Linked DNA regions of Homo sapiens: region 1 is linked to region 2. Evidence: promoter capture Hi-C in 16 types of primary human blood cells and fetal thymus (Javierre and others, 2016). All regions are on one chromosome and are shown on one strand. The core of a region is centred on a gene start or on the middle of the fragment in contact, and the rest is flanking DNA. Distances in the headings are between cores, read along the strand shown.

Region 1 (2,716 bases), core at 185-2,684, 1.1 Mb before region 2:
GGGATGACAGGCGTGAGCCACCAGCCTTTTATTTTTCCTGTGCAATTGCTATAGTTAGGACTTCCAGTGTTTTGTTGAATGGAAGAGGTAAGAGTGGGCATTCCTTCTATACTTAGTTTGTTGATTTTTTAATCATGAATGGTTGTTAATTTTCAGATGCTTTTTCTGCATCTATTGAGAAGATTATATGGTTTTTGTCCTTCATTCTGTTAATGTGGTGTATCACAATTATTGATTTGCATATGTTGAACCATTGAACCATCCTTGCATCCCAGGGATAAATCCAACTTTGTTTTGGAGACAGGGTCTCACTCTGTCACTCAGGCTGGAGTGCAGTGGTGGTCATAGCTCACTGCAGTCTCAAACTCCTGGGCTCAAGCAGTCCTCCTGCCTCAGCTTTCCAAGCAGCTGGGACAATAGGCACACAGCACCACACCTGGCTAATTAAAAAAAAAAAATTTTTTTTTTTTTTTTTTTTTGCAGAGATGGGGTTTTGCTATATTGCCCAGACTGGGATAAATCCCACTTGATCCTGGTGAATGAGCCTTTTAATGTGCTGAATTTGGTTTGCTAGTTCTGGTGAGGTTTTTGCAGCTGTGTTCATCAAGGATATAAGGATATTGGTCTAATTTGCTTTTATTTTCTTTCTTTCTTTCTTTCTTTATATTTTTAGGTGGAGTCTCGCTCTGTCGCCCAGGCTGGAGTGCAGTGGCGCGATCTTGGCTCACTGCAACCTCCGCCACCCAGGTTCTAGCGATTCTCCGGCCTCAGCTTCCTGAGTAGCTGGTATTACAGGCATGCGCCACCACTCTCGGTTAATTTTTAGTAGAGACGGGGTTTCACCATTTTGGCCAGGATGTTCTCAAACTCCTGACCTCAGGTGATCTGCCCATCTTGGCCTCGCAGTGTTGGGATTACAGGCATGAGCCACTGTGCTCGGCCTAATTTTCTTTTCTTATAGTGTCCTTGTCTGGATTTGATATCAGGGTAGTGCTGGCCTTGTAAAATTAGTTTGAAAGTATTCCTCTTCATCAAATTTTTGGAAGTTTCAGAAAGATAGGTAGTAGTTTTCCATAAATGTTTAGTTGAATTCGGCAATGATGCCACCAGGTCCTGGGCTTTTCTTTGATGGCAGACTTTTTAAAATTATTGATTCAACCTTCTTACTCATTGGTCAGATTTTCGGTGTCTTTGTGATTCAGTCTTGGTAGGCTGTATGTGTCTAGGAACTCATCCATTTCTTGTAGGTTATCCAGTTTGCTGGTAATTTTTTATGGTAGTCTCTTAGGATCCTTTGTATTTCTTTTCTTTTCTCTTTTTTTTTTTTTTTTTTTTTTTTTTGAGACAGAGAGTCTTGCTCTGTCTCCCAGGTTGGAGTGTGTAGTGGCGTGATCTTGGCTCACTGCAACTTCCATCTCACGGGTTCCAGCAATTCTCCCACCTAAGCCTCCCAAGTAGCTGAGATTACAGGCATGTACCACCACACCCAGCTAATTTTTTTTTTTCGAGATGGAGTTTTGCTCATGTTGCCTAGGCTAGAGTGCAATGGCATGGTCTTGGCTCACTGCAACTTCTGCCTCCCGGGTTCAAGTGATTCTCCTGCCTCAGCCTCCCAAGTAGCTGGGATTACAGGAACCTGCTAGCATGCCTGGCTAATTTTTTGTATTTTTAGTAGAGACAGGGTTTCACCACTTTGACCAGGGTGGTCTCAAACTCCTGACCTCAAGTGATCCGCCCACCTTGGCCTCCCAAAGTGCTGGGATTACAGGCATGAGCCACCGTGCCTGGCCTGATCCTTTGTATTTCTATGGAATCAGTTGTAATGTCTTCCCTTCTCCCTCTCCCTTCTTTCCTTTCTTTCTTTCTTTCTTACAAGGTCTCACTCTTATCGCCCAAGCTGGAGTGCAGTGGTGGGATCTCAGCTCACTACAACATTCCCTTCCCAGGCTCAAGTGATTCTCCTACCTCAGCCTCCCAAGTAGCTGGGATTACAGGTGCCTGCCACCATGCCCAGCAAATTTTTGTATTTTTTAGTAGAGATGGGGTTCACCATATTGACCAGGCTGATCTCAAACTCCTGACCTCAGGTGATCCACCTGCCTTGGCCTCCCAAAGTGCTGGGATTATCTTTTTCCATTTCTAATTCTATGAGAGTCTTCTCTATTTTTTCTTAGCTAGAAGTTTGTCAATTTTATCTTTTCAAGAAACCAACTGAATTTTGTTGATCTTTTCATTTTTTTCAGCTCTGGTCTTTACTATTTCCTTTCTTTTATTTATTTTTGAGACGTAGTCTTGCTCTGGTCTTTATTATTTCCATTTATGTATATATGTATGTATTTTTGAGATGGAGTCTTGCTCTGTTACCCAGGCTGGAGTGCAGTAGCGTAATCTCATCTCACTGCAACCTCCGTCTCCCAGGTTCAAGCGATTCTTCTGCCTCAGCCTCCCGAGTAGCTGGGACTATAGGAGCGTGTCACCATACATGGCTAATTTTTTTGCATTTTTAGTAGAGATGGGGTTTTTCCATGTTGGTCAGGCTAGTCTCAAACCCCTGACCTCAGGTGATCTGCCCACCTTGGCCTCCCAAAGTGCTGGGATTACAGGTGTGAGCCACCTCACCTGGCCTATTTCCTTTTATTAACTGGGCCTAGTTCTTTTTATTTTCCTGGTGCCTTGAGGTGTAACATTGGGTTGTTTATCTGAAGTCTTTTCTTTC
Region 2 (2,759 bases), core at 146-2,645:
GTCAGATCGCTTGAGCTCATAAGTTGAAGACCATCCTGGGCAACATGGCAAAACCCCATCACTACAAAAAGTACAAAAATTGCTGGGCATGGTGGTGCACACCTCTTGTCCCAGCTACTCGGGAGGCTCAGATGGGAGGACCACTTGAGCCTGGGGCTCAAGGCTGCAGTCAGCTATGATCTTGACACTGCACTCCAGCCTGAGTGACAGAGTGAGACCCTGTCTCAGAGCAAACATGCACACACACACACACACAAATATCATAGATGTCTTGTCTTCCCCTCTCAAATCTGCTCACTATGACAGGGACTGTGGCTGTCTTGTTGATCACAGTGTGCCCAGTGGCTAGCAAAATATCTCTTATCTTAAGAGATAAGTGGCTGGCACATAACAAATACTGAATAAATGGGTATTCAATTGGATTCACTTGGCTCCTTTATTTACCTTGTCCTTTTCTCTTTCTTTACCCCTCTTGGGTTACGGTTGCCAACACAACCTAGCCCTCTGATAACAGGCAGAACAAGCAGAGGAACTAGCTTACTCCTCCATTAAAATCTGGGCAAAGAGATGGGGTGTGTGTGTGTGTGTGTGTGTGTGTGTGTGTGTGTGTATCTATCCACTAGCCAAAGAAGTGATAGAGTTAAGATAGGCTAAAGAGTCCTTGTAGAGCCAGCAACTCCATTCAAAAGAGCAAGACCCTGTGTCAAAAATAAAAAATAAAAAAATCATGAGCTTGCACTGGGATTGAAAGTTAATAAAAGACTGTGAGATTTTGATGGCATAGATAAAAAAAAAACTAAAACCATGTCATTTGTTCCAACCAAGGTTGGCAACTTAAAACCAAGTAAAACAATGGCCTCTTTGAAAAGAGAAAACTATTTAAATTTCATGAAAAGCATTTTTAAAGGCATAGAATTAAAATATCTTCCCTCTTCCCCATGCAGATAATGCCGTAGTTCAGGGTCTCTCCTCTGATTGTGGCTAAGGGATGAGCCACTCCTATAGTGCCAGTCCTCAGTGAGAAAAGAGAGCATCTCTAGGCATAGTTTTCTCTCTTTCTCTAAAAATCCAATCATTTAGACAATCTAGAAAGAGGATAAAGTATTTGTATTGACGTCCCTGCCTCTTGCTGCTGTCTGCAAAAACCTACCATGAACACTGTTTCCAACAGAAACCATCGGGTTGAACTTACCCTCTACTGCAGATTATCTCTAGGGCTTCCAAGTTCCCATGGTAGGCTGCCAAGAGAGTAGGAGTCATGCCGTCTTCATCCGAAAGATTTAGATCTCGCTTGGTAGCCTCTTTTAGAAGTTCCAGGTAACTATCACTAGCAGCTTGGTGGTAACGAGTAGACATTTTTCCTGCTCACCAGAACTTGGCCAGATGTCTCTCCAGGCAGAGCAAGGTGTTGGCGGAGCAACCTTCCTATAGAGCTGGTTAATTAGTGACAAGGAAGAGTGTCACCAGGGGCAAAGCTCATTTCAACTGCTTCCTTTCACGGAAGGCAACAAGGTTCGAGGCACTGAACTTGGACCTTTTCTCTCTGGAATGGCCATGACGTTGACTATTGAAGACTGCTGTATTCATCTTGAGTGTTTGGAGGTACATTCAATTTTTCTATGTCCATTAGTTTCTTGAGTGTAATATTGGCCATCTAGGCACAGGATGTAAGAAATAATTTCTTAATAAAATGCAGAGCTACTCTAGTTCACTAGCTGTTTTTTCCAAAAAGAACAGCTTTATTGAGGTATAACATCATTAAATTTACCCATTTCATGCATACAATTCAATGATTTTTAGGACATTTATAGAGTTGCATGCCCATTATCATAATCCAGTTTCCATCAGCCCTTAAAGATCCCTCATGCCATTTGCTGTCAATCCCATTTCCACTCCCAACCTCAGGAAACCACAGTCTGCTTTCTGTCTCTATAGATTTGTTTTTTACGGGCATTTCAGACAAATGGAATCCTACAATATATAGTCTTTAGTGTATAGCTTGTTTCAATTCACATACTTTTTTGAGGTTTGTCATGTGTAGCATGTAATGGTTTCTTTCTTTTCACTGCTGAATAATATTCCACTGTGCTAACATACCACATGTTCTTCATCCATTCAATGTTTCATGAATATGATGAATATTTGGGTTGTTTCCATTTTTCAGTAATGATGAATAATGCTGCTATGAGCACTGATGTACAAGTCTCTGTGTGGACACATATTTTCATGTGTCTTGCGTATATATCAAGGAGTGAAACTGCTGGGTTGCATGGCAATTTACATTTAAATTTCAGAAGTTGCCAGACTGTTTTCCAAAGTGGCTGTACTACTTCACATTTCCACCAATAACGTATGAGGGTTTCAATTTCTCCACAACCTTGCCAGCCTTATTATTGCCTATCTTTTTGTTTATGGTCATCCTAGTGGATATGAAGTGGTCTTATTATGGCTTTAATTTTCAATTTCCTAATGACTAAGATATTGAGCATCTTTTCATGTGCCCATTAGCCATTCTTACATCTTCTATTCAAATCTTTTTGCCCAATTTTTAAGTGGTTGTCTTATTAATAAATTATAAGAATTATTTATATACTCTGGATACAAGTCCTATATCAGACATATTTGGAACAGAATGAAAATGAAAATACCACATATCAAGATTTATAGGATGCAGTTAAAGAAAAGCTTAGGGCAAAATTTGTAGTTTTTTATGCATATATGAGAAAGAAAAAAGATCTCAAATCAATAACTTAAACATA

What was found. The method cuts DNA at HindIII sites, captures the fragments that hold promoters and counts their contacts. A CHiCAGO score of 5 or more calls a contact.
Region 1: a contact is called between a fragment that was not itself captured here and the fragment with the promoter of ANKS4B in region 2, in 1 of 17 cell types (total B cells). The highest score is 5.0, in total B cells.

Annotation. Positions count from the first base shown.
Region 1 is chr16:22,338,684-22,341,399 of GRCh38, reverse strand. All of the region lies in intron 1 of LOC124903664 (a long non-coding RNA gene), which reads left to right. Among named protein-coding and RNA genes, the nearest start is that of CDR2, 35 kb to the left of the region's middle. The HindIII fragment of the contact is 4,639 bases long and covers 1-2,716 here.
Region 2 is chr16:21,232,335-21,235,093 of GRCh38, reverse strand. It overlaps ANKS4B (ankyrin repeat and sterile alpha motif domain containing 4B), which reads right to left and starts at 1,395. Exons shown (of 2, transcript NM_145865.3): 1 at 1,193-1,395. The coding sequence starts at 1,356. LOC105371123 (a long non-coding RNA gene) reads left to right here and starts at 1,492. Exons shown (of 2, transcript XR_001752344.2): 1 at 1,492-1,602. The HindIII fragment of the contact is 3,732 bases long and covers 1-2,687 here.